Regions from separate parts of the Homo sapiens genome. Here region 1 is linked to region 2. The links are contacts of gene promoters, found by promoter capture Hi-C in human tissues and cell types (Jung and others, 2019). All regions are on one chromosome and are shown on one strand. The core of a region is centred on a gene start or on the middle of the fragment in contact, and the rest is flanking DNA. Distances in the headings are between cores, read along the strand shown.

Evidence for each region. Contacts are between HindIII fragments. The study calls those that stand out against the background at their distance.
Region 1: a contact is called between a fragment that was not itself captured here and the fragment with the promoter of RALYL in region 2, in 1 of the 25 tissues and cell types used here (ovary).

The regions. Positions count from the first base shown.
Region 1 is chr8:84,129,244-84,131,943 of GRCh38, reverse strand. No RefSeq gene overlaps it. Among named protein-coding and RNA genes, the nearest start is that of RALYL, 53 kb to the left of the region's middle. The HindIII fragment of the contact is 3,818 bases long and covers 1-2,700 here.
Region 2 is chr8:84,181,920-84,184,700 of GRCh38, reverse strand. It overlaps RALYL (RALY RNA binding protein like), which reads right to left and starts at 1,427. Exons shown (of 9, transcript NM_173848.7): 1 at 277-1,427. The HindIII fragment of the contact is 16,405 bases long and covers 1-2,781 here.

The DNA of each region.
Region 1 (2,700 bases), core at 27-2,526, 53 kb after region 2:
TTCATTTATTTAACAATTATTTGTCAAGCTTCAGTTATGTATCAGACACTATTCTGCTGCTGGAAATGTAATAGTACTGTGTAAAAAGTAAAATATTTGGTTTTTTTTTTCGTTTTGCAGAAACTGATCACTACCTCTTTGATAAAATACTTGTTTCATTTAACTTCCAAGACAGCCCAATCACCTTGCCTCTACTCTCCTCTTCTTCCCTCACCAGTTAATCACAATTTTTTTTTTTTTTTTGAGTTGGAGTCTTGCTCTGTCGCCCAGGCTGGAGGGCAGTGGTGCGATCTCGGCTCACTGCTAGCTCCGCCTCCTGGATTCACGCCATTCTCCTGCCTCAGTCTCCTGAGTAGCTGGGACTACAGGTGCCCGCCACAAAGCCCGGCTAATCTTTTGTAGTTTTAGCAGAGACGAGGTTTCACCGTATTAACCGTCTTGATCTCCTGACCTCGTGATCCACCCGCCTCGGCCTCCCAAAGTGCTGGGATTACAGGCGTGAGCCACTGAGCCCAGCCAATCATAAATTTTTATAAGACTTTTTGATTGACCATAGGACATTAAATAGTTTTTTGGTTTATATTCTCATAGGGAGAGGAAAATAGTACAAAAATGAAATACTATATATTAAGTGTTGTTAAGGGATATGAAAAAAAATAAACCAAGTAAGGAGCTGACAACTGATGAGAAGAGCGTTCTTTTTAAATAGGGTAGACAGGAAATGCTTCTCTGAAGAGGGGAAATGGAGTCATATAAATATCTCAGAAAACATCACGTGTGAAGGACCCAAGTGAGAAACACTTTTGACTAGCTCAAGGATCAGTGGGAAAACAATGGCAAATTGAGACAAAGACTGACTAGTAGAAGATGAGGTCAGGGGTGGGTGGTGGGCAGAGATGTGCAGATCATATAACATTTTGAAGGTTCTGATATGAATTCTGGACTTTATTCTGAGTGAAAAGGACATTTATGGGTGGGTTTGAAGAAGATCTACCTCATGATCTGACATATTTTTTAATTTATTATTTTTTAAAATTATGGTTAAAATGCATAAAACATAAAATTTACCATCCTATTTTTGAGTCTACAGTTCAGTAGTGTTAAGTACATTCACAGTGTTGTGCAACCAATTTCCAGAACTTTTTCATCTTGCAAAATCGAAACTTTATACTCGTTAAACAATTACTCTCAATTTTCCACCGCATCTAACTCCTGGCAACCAGCATTCTACTTTCCATTTTTAGATACGCCTAGATATCTCATGTCTAGAGTAGTTTGGCTACTCTAGATACCTCACATAAGTGGAATCATATTTGTCTTTTTGTGAGGGGTTTATTTCACTTAGCATAATATCCTCAAGGTTCATGCATACTGTAGCATATATCAGAATTTCCTCCTTTTTAAAGCTAAATAATATTCCATTGCATGTATATATTACATTTTGTTTATCCATTCATCTGTAGGTGGACATTTGACAATAAGCTTCTACCTATTGGCTATGGCTGCTATGAACAGGTCTTCACAACCCTGTCTTCAATTCTTTTGAGCATATATCCAGAGATGAAATTGTTGGATTTAATCTGACATATTTTAAAAGGATCATTCTGGATGCTGTATGGCAAGAAGACAAGGTGAAAGCTAGAATAACATAAAAACAGGAAGACCAGCCAGAGGGCTATTGACAAATTCAAAGAGAGTGATGGTGGTATCTCAGGCTGGAATTGTAATGATGTAGATGGTGATAAAATGGCCAGATTTTGGTAGGGCTAACTAAATGTGTTTCTGGATTAGAAGTGGAGTCTGAGAGAGAAAGAGGAGTTCTTGATGACTCTAAGCAGTTTGGCTTGAGCAATTACAGCAAAAGAGGCAGGAAGAGGAGGGATAACAGGAGCGGTTCACCCTAAGGTGTGAGAGTGAAGAAGTGTATGGTTTAATATTGAAGAAAACGTCAAGCGGTCAATTACATATTTTTATATTATTTAGGGGAATGTTAGGGTCTAAAAGTATATATCTGGGAATTGCCATGAGTGTGTAGATGGTATTTTAAGGCCACAAGACAGGATGAAATTCCCCAATGAGTGAATATAGATGGACAAAAGATGTTCAAATACTGAGTTTTGGGACTACCTGATATTTAGAGATCGGTAAGAGAAGAATCACCTGGTGGAGAGAGGAGAGAAGAATGGGTCATGAAGGAGAGGAGAGGCAAGGTGAGTGGTCTGTCTTGGAAGTGAAAGGAAAAAAGTATTTTATCAAAGAGGTAGTGATCAAGGGTTTCAAAAGCTGCTGACAACAAAAATACTTAACAGAAGAGGAAATAAAAATGTCCTTTCAGCATCTGAAAATAAACTAATTATGCCTAATAAAAGAAATATAAATTTGAACTATATTGGAATACCACTTATTATCTATTAGTTTGAAAACCATGCAAAAATTTGACAATATTCCCTGATAGGAAAGTTGTGGGGGAATTAAAGCCTTCCTATTGTTGGTGGGAATAAACAATAATATAACCTCTACAGAGAAAAACTGAGCAATAATTAAAAAATAATGTATGCATTTATTCTTGACCCTGTCACATTTAGGAACCAATTCAAAAATATGCAAGAAAAAAGTACATAACAACTAATTTTCAATGACATAAAACACAACAAATTAGCCACCCCTCCCCTTCAACAATAAAACATTCGGAAGGAGCTG
Region 2 (2,781 bases), core at 178-2,677:
CCCCGCCGGGAGACGACCTGGGCGCAGCTCACCGTGGGAGGGGTGGGGGGAGGGGACTGTATTTTGCGCACATCTAGAAAACGATCCTGAAGCAGGGAACGGACTTTGGTTTTCCCTGGCTCCCTGCGCCGCTCTCCCCACCTCGGGCTCGGACACTGCCCGGAGATGCGCGCGCGCAAACACAGACACACACACACACTCACACTCACACATTTCTTTGCTAGGACCAGTGTTGCCACTGCACACCCGGGAAACGCCTCCAAGGGGACCAAGTACCTGCTCTCTGCGAGCTGCTCAGCTGTTCACTTCATCCTCCGTTGACAAGGAAACCAAACCGCACTTCATTTTTTTTTTTCCAGAAAAACCTTCCACTGCCATCATTTGAAAATTGATTTACGGGGAGGGAAGGGGGAGAAATAAGGGACAATATAGATATAGATATCAGGATATCTATCATAAAATTATCTCGGTTTTTTAAAAAAGTCAAATGTGCAAAAGTCATAGTTAATTTAAAGGAGGAAAAAAGTATTTTGCTTAAAAATGATCCCAATCACCAGCTGTAAGAAAAGTTTCATGTTATCAATGGGTATCAAAAACAGGAGGGAAAAAAAACGAATTTGTTTTCACCGGCTTCCAAAAAGGGCACAAAAAATATAAAATTAATGTCTTTGCTCAGTGGTTTGCACCAGTATTGCAAGACCACAAACTTGTAAACACTGCCGTAAAATCCCACCTATACAAAAATGTTATCAGAAAAAGAGTATGCAAAAAAAGAGTTAGAAACATGCTTTTTATTTTTACAAAGGAAAAAAATAGGCACCATACTTCACATCGCTTTTTCCATAAAACCAGTTGCACATTTTGCTGGACTTGGGAGACGCTCCCAGCGGGCACGGTCGCCGCGGACTCCGAGACACAGCGCCTTGTCTACAGAACGATCGCATGCTAGAAAAACTTGGATTCAGGAAAAGGCTCAAAACCATGCTCCTCCAGCTTTCCCAAATATAAACAATAATCAAAGAAGTGGAAAAAAAGAAAAAAAACAAAAACAAAAAAAACAAAAAACCAAAAAAAAGGACAAAAAAAAGAATAGGACAAGAATGCCACTGAGAAGGTACTCACCGAGCGGGAGTAAAATGTTGGAATAAAAATGAGATTTAGTATAAAATACAGTATGGCGGTGGAAGAAGGAATGAAGCGCGTTTTTTTCTCGCAGTCTCTGCCTCAGGCACTGACACGTGACTCGGAGCCAGGCTGACTTGCAGGCAGCGGGGAAGGACCGAGGCTGCGAGGGGGGAAGCCCACGGAGCCCAACTCTGGCTGGCGAGGCGGCGGCGGCGGCGACGGGGAGCCTGGCGCCTGAGAGCGGCAACACCAGTGGCGGCAGCAGCGGCAGCGGCAGCTCGCGGCGAGGCTGCCTTCGCTGTGAGCCCAGACGAGCAGGTGCCCCTCACGCTGAGGCTGAGCACACGCACACGCACACGCAAGACAGGCAGGGCGCCGGCGAGAGGGGGAGCCGAGCGGGGTTGGGCCCGAGGCGCGCAGCTGCCGCCGCCTCTGCCGCTGCTGCCGCGATTGCTGCTGCTGCCTCTGTTGCTGCCGCCGCCGCCTCGCATTGGGAGTGTGTGCTGTGGGGGCAGCTCAGGGGTGCTGATCCAGCGCCTTGAGAGGAGGTGCACAACTTGCTGCTCACCTCAAAGTTGTTGCTTGCCACTTCCTTGTGTATTTCATCTATTTTTCATCTACAGGTAGTTACCTGGGGAGAGATCCCATCGTCTTCTCTCTGGAAGTTTTACTATTCAAGCCCACATTCACTCATTCATTTTGTTTGTTTGTTTGTTTGTTTCCCTGATTTTCCATTTCCCATCCCTCCCAAGCTGCCTTTGCCTCTGCTGTTCCCTCCTCCCTAGATCTGCGTTTCCCCCTCCCGGTTCTCAGGGAACCTGGCTCAGCGCGATGCTGGGGGCGTTGTCACGGGCAAAGCCACTGTCAATCTTTATTGCCATCTGAACGCACAGCCTCTCTTTCGCCGTCTTCAAGGGGAATGCTTGCAGTTTGAAAGACACAACAAAATCTCTTATTTAGGAAACCCCGTCCCGGGTTTCTTTCTGCGGGTTGCGGAGCGGTGGGTGGGGGCATGGGTGTCCTTTATTCATTCGTGGACAAGGCATTGTTTTGTCTGTGTGTGCGCCCGTGCTTCTGAGCTGGTCTGGAAAGCTCCAAGGGTCTATGCTCCATGGCAGAGACTCCTGTTTGACTCTTGCTCAAGTTGTTCGCTGAGGCTGGAAGTCAAAGGAGAGGGGCATGGGAAACAAGTGAGTCCATTGTGTGAGTGCTCGCCTGGAGGGAGCAAGCACTTGGCGGTCGAGAGGGGGAGACGTGTACCAGCAGTGAGGCGGTGGCGCACCCCGCGGGAGCCAGGTGGCTGAGCAGTGGATTCTGAAGGTGAGGGTGGCAGAGGGATTTCTCCACCCAGCGTGTGGGTTAGGGCGCTCATCGATCGCCTGAACAAAGATGCCATCAGCCAATCGCTGGGTGCATTGGGCTTCTATTACTGCCTGTTGAAGAATCAGCTTTGTGGACGCTAGAACACATCTATTTTTCTTCATTTTTGTACAATACTCACCTCAGGACCATTTCCCTGTGCTGCTTTGAATCTAGGTTGTGTGGAATTAATTGGCGTCTCTATATTTGAGAATGAGCAATTAACACAATTCTGCAGTTCAAAGATTCCTGCTCCCGATCTTTATCTCAATGTTTCCAATGCTGACGTTTCATATA